Regions from separate parts of the Homo sapiens genome. Here all the other regions are linked to region 1. The links are contacts of gene promoters, found by promoter capture Hi-C in blood cells and fetal thymus (Javierre and others, 2016). All regions are on one chromosome and are shown on one strand. The core of a region is centred on a gene start or on the middle of the fragment in contact, and the rest is flanking DNA. Distances in the headings are between cores, read along the strand shown.

Region 1 (3,102 bases), core at 427-2,926:
GAGGCGGGTGGATCACGAGGTCAGGAGTTTCAGACCAGCCTGATCAAGATGGTGAAACCCTGTGTCTACTAAAAATACAAAAAATTAGCTGGGCACGGTAGTGGGTGCCTGTAATCCCAGCTACTCAGGAGGCTGAGGCAGGAAAATCGCTTGAACCCAGGAGGCAGAGGTTGCAGTGAGCCAAGATGGCGCCACTGCACTCTAGCCTGGGTGACAGAGCAAGACTCTGTCACAAAAAAAAAAAATTAGCTGGGCATGGTGGCATGCGCCTGTAGTCCCAGCTACTCTGGAGGCTGAGGCAGGAGAATCGCTTGAACCCAGGAGGTGGAGGTTGCAGTGAGCCGAGATCACGCCATTACAATCCAGCCTGGGTGACATAGTGAGACCCCATCTCAGAAATAAATAAATAAATAAAGTAAATCTGACTTTTTTTTTTTTTTTAAAGAGTAAGCCCTAAGGCTTAACAAGATCATTCATACCCTTTGTTGGAGGAGTTTGGACTTGATGGTTACTATTAGGAAGTCTGTAGTGACAGAATGAAAATTTTATATGAGGCCCCTTCTTGCTGGCACTGTCAATGGATAGATAAGAGGGCTGGAGAACAAAGACCCAGATTTAAAGCCTCTGTCTTTGGACAAACCAGATATGTAGTAACTACTTCCCCGTCCTCTCCCAACCCCTTTAACTGGAGTTTGAGAGCAGCCTTCTCACTGAGAGCCCGTTTTTATCCAGGTACCATGGAGAGAAGCTACAGCCATTTGGGCAACTGAAGAGGCCCCGTAGAAATGGCTTGGGGCTCATCTCCACCATCTATGATGAGCCTCTACCCCAAGACCAGACGGAGTCACTGCTCCGCCGCCAGCCACCCACCAGCATGAAGTTTCGGACAGACATGGCCTTTGTGAGGGGTTCCAGTTGTGCTTCAGACAGCCCCTCATTGCCTGACTGACCGGGTTGGGGGCTTCCTTTCATAGCTACATGATGAAAACCCTCTGCCCTGGCCTCATCTACCACTGAAGCAGAAAGGAGTCTGGGAGCAGCAGTCTTCGTGGCTGGTTCAGGGTGTTTTGTTCCGAGCCTGCCTGCCTGCCGGTTCTATACCTCAGGGGCATTTTTACAAAAAGCCCCCTCCCGTCCCCTCCCCTTGGATATTAGGGGTAACGACCGCTTGTCTTTGGTCTCTAACCCTAATCTCTGGGCTTGCCCTTTGCCTCCTGCAGAACTTTGAAAAGCTGGGTTGAGTGAGGCTATCAGCACAGCCTTCCTTGGGGACTCTGAAGGTGTCCCCACGAAGGCCAGAAAGGGGGAAAGGGACCTGGGCGAGGAGAGGATTTGTGGTGCTTGGAAGAGCCGGCCTTGGGTGGGCCCTCCACCGCCTCTACCCTCACTGGGTGGGACTGCCAGCGGAGAGTCCGCGGGAGGTGGCTTGGGTGTGCGACGTCACGGAAGAATAAAGACGTTTACTACTGGAGCTCCCTTACTTTTCTAATTCGAGTCTGAAGGTTAGAGAAATTCCGAGAGCGATTTTCCCGCAAAGACCCCACATTCGACCCACTACCCGCGAGAGAAATGCGGCTGCGCCGCCCGCCCCTCGGCGTCTAGCTTCGTCCCCGCCGTGAGGGCGGGACTTCCTCTCGTTGGCTCGCCGTTTCCGACGCTGTCCGGAAGTCGAGTTAGTCTAGTTAGTATCGGCCTGTTATCTCCTTTTGCGCGACACGGTCTCAGCTGTTCCGCCTGAGGCGAGTGACGCTGGCCGCCAACGAGGTATACGTACTGGGACCCTCGCCCTCAGTCTCGTCTCCGGCGCGGCTACCTGCCCCGTTTTCCCTGTGAGTTGACCTGCTCCGGGCCGCGGGCCGCCAATGGCAGGGGCCGCTCCGACCACGGCCTTCGGGCAGGCGGTGATCGGCCCGCCGGGCTCAGGGAAGACCACGTACTGCCTGGGCATGAGTGAGTTCCTGCGCGCGCTGGGCCGGCGCGTGGCGGTGGTGAACCTGGACCCGGCCAACGAGGGGCTGCCGTACGAGTGTGCCGTGGACGTGGGCGAGCTGGTGGGGCTGGGCGACGTGATGGACGCGCTGCGCCTGGGGCCCAACGGCGGCCTGCTCTACTGCATGGAGTACCTGGAAGCCAACCTGGACTGGCTGCGTGCCAAGCTCGACCCCCTCCGCGGCCACTACTTCCTCTTCGACTGCCCAGGCCAGGTGGAGCTCTGCACGCATCACGGCGCCTTGCGCAGCATCTTCTCCCAAATGGCGCAGTGGGACCTCAGGGTGCGTCTCAGGGCGGGGAGGCCCATTTTGCGGATGGAGTAACTGAGACAGGGAGGACAGACGCCACGCCCCCATGTCACACAGGGAGGTAGGGGCTGGGTCGCTTTGGAGTAAAACAGGCATGAGTTCAGAATCTGGCTCTGCTACTGACTGGCTGTGTGGTGTTGATAAGTCAGTTCATCACTCTGAACCTCAGTTTCCTCACGTGTAAAATGTGTTAGTAGCCAACTTGGCGATTTTGGAAGTATGGAAGGGGTTAATGTCGAAAGTGGCATGGAGATTGTTGTAAATTGGTGGGCAAAAGTAAATGAAAGAGTGGAGTCAGATGCCATGGGATTTAAACCCCTTGCCCACTGGGAGGCTCAGTGCAAGACCTCTTGTAAGAAAAAAAAAATGACTCCTATTTCCTGGGAGAAGGAAACCAGGGTGGTTATTAGAAAGAAACAGAGGCAGGAGACTAATGGGGAAAGCTTCCCCTCTGTCCTCAAGCCCTCATTCTCATGAGGGAATGCTGATCCCTGTTTCTCCAGGCCACTCTCACCCTGTCTATTCCCTCCCAGCTGACTGCCGTCCACCTCGTGGATTCTCACTACTGCACAGACCCTGCCAAGTTCATTTCAGTACTGTGTACCTCCCTGGCCACCATGCTGCACGTGGAACTGCCCCACATCAACCTCCTTTCCAAGATGGACCTCATTGAGCATTATGGGAAGCTGGGTAAGAGCTTCTGTTCCAGGCGAAGAGCAGGGCAGCAGCTGGGCTAGAATGAAGCAGACATCTCAGCTGAAGGTAGCTGCCTCTGGTGCCTTGCGTGGTCTGGTGATAGTAG
Region 2 (3,102 bases), core at 231-2,730, 390 kb after region 1:
CCTTGTGCATGTGACCACCTGAAAGAGGCCTGAAGAAGAAACCGGAGGAATCTGCAGAGGCCAGATCCTGAGTGCCTGGCGCATCACAGACTGTGATTTTTTTTTTTTTTTTTTGAGACAGTCTTGCTCTGTCACCCAGGCTGGAGTGCAGTTGTGCCATCCATGGCTTACTGCAGCATCGACCTCCTAGGCTCAAGCAATCCTTCCACCTCAGCCTCCCTAGCAGCTGGGACTACAGGTGTGTGCCACTATGCCTGGCTAATTTTTGTATTTTTTGTAGAGCCAGGGTTTCCCTGTGTTGCCCAGGCTTAGACTGTGATCTTAATACTGTGCTGTCAGAAGCCATTCAGAGTTCCAAGCTGGGGGGTGACTTTTATTCAATGACGTGAACAACAAATACTTCTTGAGCACCTACTACATGTAGAATGCTGGGGATTTTATAGTAACCAGACTCTTGCAATCTCTGTCATTGGGAAGCTTATACTCTTTTCTTTTCCTAATCAAAGTTATATATGCACAAAGTTTAAACAGATAAGTTTTTATAAAAACAGCAGGCTGGGCATGATTATCACACCTATAATCCCAGCACTTTGGGAGGCCAAGGTGGGAGGATTGCTTGAGCCCAGGAGTTCAAGACCAGCCTGGGCAACATAGTGAGACCTCCATCTCTACTAAGAAAACAAAAAGACATCGCCCATTCCACTGAAGCAGAGGCACCCATTTTCAACTCCTTTAACTGACTATATTTTATATTTATCTCCATATCTCGAAATAAATGTGCTTGTTTTGCTCTTTCTTGATATTTCAGTTATAGGCACTATCTCTTGTTTTTCTACCATGGAAAATAGTTTTATTTTTTGGGTTTTTGTGAGACAGGGTCTCACTCTGTCACCCAGGCTGGAGTGCAGTGGTGCCATCCATGGCTCACTGCAGCCTCGACCTTCCTGGTTCAAGTGATCCTCAGCTCAGCCTCTTGAGTAGCTGGGACAATAGGTGCGCACCACCATGCCAGGCTAATATTTTTTTCTGTTTTTTGTAGAGATGGGGTCTCACTTTTGTTGCCCAGGCTGGAGGACGATAGTTTTAACACTTCCCATCACCAGCCATACGGATAATCCCCATCTCTCTAAACTGCCATCATAATTTTGTTTTGTTCAATTCTCATTGTTTACATTATTCGACGGCGCTATGATTCCTTTCCTCTACAACTTTTTGTTTTCCTGCAGCTCTTAATTGTCCTGTTTTACCACTTGCTTAGTGTATTCCACTCCCTACCAGGTATCTAAATCTCCTCTCAAGATGTTCAGACAGGCTGGGCGTGGTGGCTCACGCCTGTAATCCCAGCACTCTGGGAGGCCGAGGCAGGTGGATCAGAGGGTCAGGAGATTGAGACCATTCTGGTTAACACGGTGAAACCCCCTCTCTACTAAAAAATATAAAAAATTAGCTGGGCGTGGTGGTGGGCGCCTGTAGTCCCAGCTACTCGGGAGGCTGAGGCAGGAGAATGGCGTGAACCCTGGAGACGGAGCTTGCACTGAGCCGAGATTGCGCCACTGCACTCCAGCCTGGGAGACAGAGCAAGACTCTGTCTCAAAAAAAAAAAAAAAAGATATTCAGACAAATCAGATACCTCAGGTTGGTCTCTCTGGAAGGTACACAGAAGAAGAGGTTTGTTAGGGATCAACACCTATGAAAGGAAGTGGGAGGAAGCAGGATTGGGCAGAAGTCAAACTACAGTGCAGGCCTGGCAAAGCCTAGGCCAACCTGGCAAGGAGCTCTGGAGTGAGTTTTGCCCATCAGAGTGTGCCAAGCCTGGCTGGAATGGCCAGGCCTTTATACCACTGCCTGGCTCAGTCACCTGATGGGGGCCGCCCTGGGGAAGGATGAGGAAGGATGTGGAAGGATGTGATCTTGGGCGAGGAGGCTGTCTGCATCTGAGGCCAGCCCTGGAGCTGACAGCTGGAGGCTGTCTGCTGTCCAAACTCCCTGCAGCTGGGCAGCAGGCCCTTCCTTGAACAGCGGGCGGGGTGGGGGGTGTTGGGAGGCTCATCTCCATGACTACCACATCAATCTTCTATCACTTTCATGTTCTTGAAGAAGTTTTCTTGGAGTCCTCTGTTCTGCTCCAGTCTGGAGTGTTTGCCCTTTATACCTGGTGAGCAGGTATCACTCTGGGCAGGGAAAGATCCAGATTGTTTAGGGTCTAAAACTTATGCAGGCATGGTGTGGTGGCTCAGAATTTTGGGAGGCCAAAGTGAGAGAATCTAGGCCAGGAGTTCAAGACCAGCCTGGGCAACGTAACAAGCCCCACTTTCTACCATCAGTCATTCAGTCCAAAATTATCTGGGTGTGGTGGAAGTTGAGGCAGGAGGATTGCTTGAGCCCAGGAGATCAAGGCTGCATTGAGGCGTGTTTGCGCCACTGTATTCCAGCCTGGGCAAAAGAGTGAGGCCTTGTCTCAAAAAAAAAAAAAAAAAAGCTTATACATTCTGAGTCCTTTTATTTATTTAGAGACAGTCTGGCTCTGTCATCCAGGCTGGAGTGCAGTGGCGCCATCTTGGCTCACTGCAACCTCCACCTCCAGGGTTCAAACGATTCTTGTGCCTCAGCCTCCCGAGTAGTTGGGATTACAGGCGTGTGCCACCACGCCTGGCTAATTCTTTTATATTTTTAGTAGAGACAGGGTTTCACCATGTTGGCCAGGCTGGTCTCTAACTCCAGGCCTCAGGTGATCCACCTGCCTCAGCCTCCCAAAGTGCTGGGATTACAGGCATGAGCCACTGCTGGCCTTTTTTTTGTTTTTGTTTTTGTTTTTTTGAGACGGAGTCTCAGTCTGTCACCCAGGCTGGAGTACAGTGGCACGATCTCTGCTCACTGCAGCCTCCGCCTCCAGGGTTCAAGCGATTCTTCTGCCTCAGCCTCCCGAGTCTCAGTGGTGTGATCTCTGCTCACTGCAGCCTCAAACTCCTGAGCTCAAGCAATCCTCCCACCTCAGCCTCCTTAGTAGTAGCTGGGACCACAGGTGCTTACTACCATGCCCAGCTAGTATTTTGCATTTTTAGTAAAGATGGGGTTTCACCATGTTGGCCAGGCTGGTCTTGA
Region 3 (3,102 bases), core at 348-2,847, 330 kb after region 1:
GTGTGGTGGTGTATATCTGTAGTCCCAGCTATTCGGGAGACTGAGGCAGGAGAATTTTTTGAACCTGGGAGGTGGAGGCTGTAGTGAGCTGAGATTGTGCCACTGCACTCCAGCCTGGGCAACAGAGCAAGACTACGTCTCAAAAACAAACAAACAAAAAACCCCAAAGTCCATTATCTTGTGAATCTGGAACCCATGCAATGAGCTCCACAGTCTACATTCTTGCCTCTCAACCTGAAACTTTCATTAGCAGTAGAAGTGTACAAATGGGGAACAAGTGTGATGAGATCCAAGTCCTTCGCTACACTTATGCCGGAGACACGACAGTCACTCGGCACCACCACCCTGGGCACCTCCTGACATGTACCCAGACCCTGGCTCTGTGCTGGGAAATGTACACCCATATCATCATCCAATTATCAGGGCCACTGTGTGAGGTGGGCCTTACTGTCCCTGTTTTATGTTGGAGGCCCTACTGGTCCCACAGTGGCATGAGGGTATGAACCTGGTTCTGTCCAACTCAGAGCCTGTGTACTCAGCCATTCTTTAGAAAAGGATAATGGAGCAGCAGCCCCCTGCCCCCCTCACCTGTACCACCGAGTGCAGGGGTGCCTGCGGGGCACGAGGCTTGCCGTCGTCTTCCATCAGGCCGGTGGCCACGAAGCTGAAGCCCCGGAACAGCTGATGGGCCCCAGCGCTGGGGGGGATGCCTGGGGAATCTGTACGGATGGAAGGAGAATGTGAGGGTACCTGAGGAGGTCCCCTCGACCCTGAGGCAGCCCAGCAAAGGGGGAGCACAGGGCCTCCAGACCTGCCTCAGGGGCTGGCCGTGGCGGGAGCCTGCAGAGGGCCTGTCCATCACAGGCCTTGGCCCAACTGCTCATATGTGTTTATTAGACCAGCCCAGTCCTGTCGCATGAGGAACAAAAAAGACTCTCACATCCACCTCCATCCCAGGCCAAGACAGTTCATCCCTTCCTGGATGCTTCCTCCCCAGCTTCCCCATCTTACGTCAGCCCCTTCAGGTCCATCTCTGCACAGCAGCCAGAGGGAAGGTTCCAACCACAAATCTGCCACCCTGCCCACACCTTTCAAAGGTTCCCGTCTGCCTTCAGGAGTAAGTCCAGCTCCTGAGTCTGGCAATTGAGGGCCCTGTGATCCTCACCTCCTCTCTCTCCATACCACAGCTGAGCCATGTTGGACTTCTCAGATCCTTAGAGGGGTCTCTGAGCCCTTGCACACACTGTTCCCTTTAACTAGATAATCCACTCCTTGCCTATCCTTCAAGACTCAACTCGCACGCTCCCTCCTCTGAGAAGCCTTGCCTGATGCTGCTCCTCCGGCCCCTGACTCCTACGAAGCTGCACTTGTCACGTTGCCCAGCGGACTGCTTGGAGAAGTGCTGTCTCTGTCATCAGAGGCGTGCAAGTGCAGTGAGAAAAGCACCCCCTTGTGGATCACCTGAGGTCAGGAGTTCGAGACCAGCCTGGCCAACATGGTGAAACCCCGTCTCTACTAAAAATACAAAAATTAGCCAGGCGTGCTGACACATGCCTGTAATCCCAGCTACTCGGGAGGCTGAGGCAGGAGAATCTCTTGAACCCAGGAGGTGGAGGTTGCAGTAAGCTGAGATCACGCCATTGCATTCCAGCCTGGGCAACAGAGCGAGACTCCATCTTGAAAAGAGGAGAGGAGAGGGAAGGGAAGGAGAGGGAAGGGGAGGGGAGGGGAGGGGAGGGGAGGGGAGGAGAGGGGAGGGGAGGAGAGGAGAGAAGAAAAGCACACCCTCTCCTAAAACATGCCCTTATAGGAGGTTTCCCAGAACATTCCACCCCACACCCACTGTCAATATCTGGCCAAAAAGTTAGGATTCACCAGGTTCCTTCCCAGAAGCTCCCTCACTGGCTTCTTGTAGCAACCCCAGGGAATGAGTGGGTTTGTGGCTGTGCCCTTGTTCCAGATAAGTACACGGAGGCCGGGCAGTCAGGGCAGCCAAAGCTGATTCCCATGCCTGTCCCTGACCTATGGGCACTGTCACCTCTGCTCAGCCACCACACAGTGTGGCTGGGTCAGATTCTTTCTCCCTGACGTGATGGTAAGCCTGATGTGTTTGGTCTTCCCAGTGGGCTGGAAGGTGCCCCGGGCAGGGGTCCTGGCTTTTCTACTGTGGCCTTCACCACCCACACATCCCCACTCCCACTCTCTCACCAGACACAAAGAGACCCACAGAGCCCCATAGTGAGAGAGTCGGGCGGAGTGAGACAGGGACAAAGTCAGTCCCACGGAGCCAGAAACTCACCCGCCTGCCCACCCGCATACCTCGGCCTGTCAGTGTCCCTGACTATCTCTGCCCCCCAAGCTGCCACCGACTCCCGGCTTCCCTCCTGTACCAGCCCAAGACAGACAAAACAGATAAGGGACGCACCCTTGGGTGTGCGGGACGTGAACTCGGTGTCAAAGTAGAAGGTGTCATCAGGCTGAGCCACTGCTGGCTTGAAGGGTGGCTTGATCTCACGACGGTATAGCTTCTGCACAGTGGGGTGGGCACTCTGGTCACCATGGCATCCTCAACAGCCCACCAGGAGCCCCATGCAGGAGGAGGTGCTGGGCTTGGAACATAGGCCATATTGCCCAGCTCTCGGAATTGCTTGCCCTCAGGAGGCCAGCCCTTGTCTTCAAGGGCAGGCTGTGACCCTCTGCTCCTGCGTCTGGGGCCCTCGCTGGCAGAGGCTCCCCTCCCACCACCCTTCCTGTGGCCAAGATGGCTGAGCCCTGGCCAGAGCCCTGGTGTGGGTGGACACACTCACATTCCAGTCAATGGTGGAGTAGAAGACATGCCGCTTGATTTCCTCTGCCCCATCAGGGCCGGAGCCTGAAAGAGCCCAAATGAAGGGTCTGTCCCTGGCTGGCACAAGTCCCAGATATTACCCTGCCCACCAAGCAGCCTCACAGGGCTCTGGGACCAGCTGCTGGAGCAGAGGGGAAAATGGGCTCACTCAGCCTCAAATCTACCCAGCCATCACCCTAAGGCCTGTCACCTACTCAGCATTTTCCACTTTCTGGAGCTTCTGATGAAGAAATTCCAATGTACCAGTGGGAGGA
Region 4 (3,102 bases), core at 229-2,728, 280 kb after region 1:
ATAATAATCCTTTAAAAACATAAATCATATTTACAACTATTATGTACCCATAAATTTTTTTAGAGGCTGAGTGTGGTGGCCTGTGCCTGTAACCCCAGTGTTTTGGGAGGCCAAGACAGGAGGATCACCTGAGGCCAGGAGTTTGAGACCAGCCTGGGCAACATAGTGAAACCCGATCTCTTCAAAAAAATTTTAAAATTAGCTGGCATAGTGGTTCACACCTGTAGTCCTAACTACTTAGGAGACTGAGGCAGGAGGATCACTTGAGCCCAGGAGTTCAAGGCTGCAGTGAGCTATGACTGCGCCACTACACTCCAGCCTGGGTGACCCCGTTGTAAAAAAATTAAATAATTTTATGTCATATCATAAAACATAAGTCTTTCCCCTACTAAAAACCCTCCAGTGGCTTCTCATCTCACTCAGAATAAAAAACAGAGAGGTCGAGCACAGTGGCTCACACCTGTAATCCCAGCACTTTGGGAGGCAAAGGCGGGCAGATCACTTGAGCCCAGGAGTTCAAGACCAGCCTGGCCAACATGGTGAAACCCTGTCTCTACTAAAAATATAAAAGTTAGCTGAGTGTGGTGGTGCACACCTGTAATCCCAGCTACTTGGGAGGCTGAGGCAGGAGAATCGCTTGAACCTGGGAGGCGGAGGTTGCAATGAGCCAAGACTGTGCCACTGCACTTCAGCCAGCCTGGGCAAAAGAGCGAGAGTCTGTCTAAAACAAAACAAAACAAAATAAACAAAGACCCCACAATGATTTACAAGGCCTTACAAGTCTGTCCCCTCCACTCCCACTTTCCTGACCTCTCTTACATCTTTCCCTTGGCTTATTCTATTTAGCTACAATTGGTCTCCTTCAACAAGGAAACTCCTGTGTCAGGACCTGTGCATTTGCTGTGCCCTCTGCCTGGCAAGCTCCTCCCCCTCATATTTATATGGCTTGTTCTCCCTCTTCTTTTATGTCTCAGCTCAAATCACCTCATCAGTGAGTTCTTTCTGTCTACCCTTTGTAAACTAAAAAAACTCTGTCCAGCCGGGCGCGGTGGCTCACACCTGTAATCCCAACACTTTGGGAGGCCGAGGCGGGCAGATCACAAGGTCAGGAGATCGAGACCATCCTGGACAACATGGTGAAACCCCATCTGTACTAAAAATACAAAAAATTAGCTGGGCATGGTGGCGCGTGCCTGTAATCCCAGCTACTCAGGAGGCTGAGGCAGGAGAATTGCTTGAACCAGGGAGTCGGAGGTTGCATTGAGCTGAGATCACACCATTGCCCTCCAGCCTGGCAAGAGAGTGAGACTCCATCTCAAAAAAAAAAAAAAAAAAAAGACTCTGCTCAAACCATAATTTCTATCTCCCTTAACACTGCTTTATGATTCTCAATACCCTCATTATCATTTAATACACTATAGGTCTACTTACTTATTATTTTGATCCTTCCCATTAGAATGTAAGTTGCATGAGAATAAGAACTTTATTTTATTTTCTGTTCTTAGAACACTGTTTTCAGCTCTGATAACACTGCCTGGCACATAGTAGGTGAATAGAGGCAGTTGACTAAAGAATAGGACCGATGTTTTCAATGACTGAATTAACAGAAAGACAAAGTCATTCTTCTGAGGATGGGAAAGCATGTTGTAAACTAGGAAATGATATAAAAAGTTTATTTCTTCCAGTTGGTTCTTGATTTCTAAGTCTTATGATCCTCTTTGAAAACCTTTACTAAATAGAGTAGACTCAAATGATCTTGGATGCAATGCTGACTCTTGGTAGGCCACCAAATACATAACTGGGTGTCAGGAAATGCGGTCTTGCCATCTTTCTCAGGCTCACTGCCATAGCTAGCAAGGACCTCTTGCTCCTTTCTTAGGTATCCTTGCATGCCTTTGGCTTTTCAGAATTTTTTATTCTGGGGAATGGGAGTGATGGTTGATGCCCTGTCTGTAGTTGAGATTCTGTACAGGGAAAGTCATTCAGTTAAATCAAGCAGTATTGAATTCCTAATTGACACAAATGAGACAGACAGACAGCTGGAGGAGTGGGGGAGGGACAGAGAGCAGGTGCCCTGAATAATGGACAAAGAAGAGAGGCAGAATATAAATTGAAGCTAATGGTGAAGAAGCTCACTGTGAGTCTAGATTTTGTGCCACAAGAAAAGTAAACTTTGCCACAGCTTACTTTACGTAGAGCGGAAAGGATCCAGTGGTGTTTTTGCCAAGGATAAGGCAACAAGTTCCAAATGCTTGTGCCATTTTGGCTGCCCTGATGGCCAAGTTTGCCTCTTTTCAGGTACCATCATTTGTGAGAATCACTCTTAGTAAAGTCCTCATTCTGTGTTTTTTTCCAAAACAAACTTAATCACGTAGTGTTTGAACGAAAGAAACTGCTTTGAAAATTCTATTTGTCAAACAAAGGGATTCTTAACACGTAAGTTAGGAAGGTGAAGGGAAGGATGTTTCTAGATCTTCAAATGCCAGACATAGGGGGCATTCCTGCAGAGAAGGCATGTATCTTGTCAACTCCAGAATTTCCTCTGAGAATGCTGGGGGCTTTTTTCCTCTCAGTCCCCTCTTGATCAGAGCTTTGACTCCCCAGCTCAGACAGTTCTTTTCTGTAGCCATGGGAATTGCTCCCATAATTAGCAGTGTCTCCTGCCTGGAACTCAGACAAGTAAATGTTCAAACCTGGCAGCCGATCCTGGGAAGGAGAGCTGATTAAATCTTTCCTGTCGAGAGGCACCTTTTTGATTTGAATGTGACACCTACATCCCCCACCTCAGGTTTGTCTGGGGGAAGCAGTTTTGCCCATATCTTCATAACTGAAGATCCTGGTATTTTAAAGACACATTTAATCTTAAAAGGAGCCCATTGGTTTCCCAAGTTAAGTAACTTAGGAAAAAGCCTAGGCTTTTTTCCTCTCCTGGCCCCTTCTCCACTAAACACCACCCTGTGTTTGGTATGATGAAAGCTCCTGCTACACAGGTATCATCAAATGCCAGAGGCCTTGAGAAATAAAACGAGTTCAGAACACCACTAAGTACACATAAGTATTAACTACAAATGGAGGAGTGAAAGAGCAGGCAAACTATTTCTT

Evidence for each region. Contacts are between HindIII fragments. The CHiCAGO score rates a contact against its expected background, and 5 or more counts as called.
Region 2: a fragment that was not itself captured here is called in contact with the fragment with the promoter of GPN2 in region 1 in 1 of 17 cell types (fetal thymus); the score reaches 5.1 in fetal thymus.
Region 3: a fragment that was not itself captured here is called in contact with the fragment with the promoter of GPN2 in region 1 in 1 of 17 cell types (total CD4 T cells); the score reaches 5.4 in total CD4 T cells.
Region 4: a fragment that was not itself captured here is called in contact with the fragment with the promoter of GPN2 in region 1 in 16 of 17 cell types (activated CD4 T cells, M0 macrophages, erythroblasts and 13 more); the score reaches 11.8 in activated CD4 T cells.

Annotation. Positions count from the first base shown.
Region 1 is chr1:26,888,857-26,891,958 of GRCh38, reverse strand. It overlaps GPN2 (GPN-loop GTPase 2), which reads left to right and starts at 1,676. Exons shown (of 5, transcript NM_018066.4): 1 at 1,676-2,273; 2 at 2,834-2,990. The coding sequence starts at 1,863. GPATCH3 (G-patch domain containing 3) reads left to right here. Exons shown (of 7, transcript NM_022078.3): 7 at 733-1,471. The coding sequence ends at 949. RefSeq lists enhancers at 1,333-1,602, 2,113-2,282, 1,638-2,515. The HindIII fragment of the contact is 6,723 bases long and covers 1-2,745 here.
Region 2 is chr1:26,495,909-26,499,010 of GRCh38, reverse strand. No RefSeq gene overlaps it. Among named protein-coding and RNA genes, the nearest start is that of HMGN2, 25 kb to the right of the region's middle. The HindIII fragment of the contact is 2,002 bases long and covers 480-2,481 here.
Region 3 is chr1:26,556,424-26,559,525 of GRCh38, reverse strand. It overlaps RPS6KA1 (ribosomal protein S6 kinase A1), which reads right to left. Exons shown (of 22, transcript NM_002953.4): 12 at 2,808-2,872; 13 at 2,426-2,528; 14 at 589-719. Among named protein-coding and RNA genes, the nearest start is that of MIR1976, 3.4 kb to the right of the region's middle. The HindIII fragment of the contact is 3,642 bases long and covers 1-3,102 here.
Region 4 is chr1:26,603,947-26,607,048 of GRCh38, reverse strand. No RefSeq gene overlaps it. Among named protein-coding and RNA genes, the nearest start is that of MIR1976, 51 kb to the right of the region's middle. The HindIII fragment of the contact is 3,407 bases long and covers 1-3,102 here.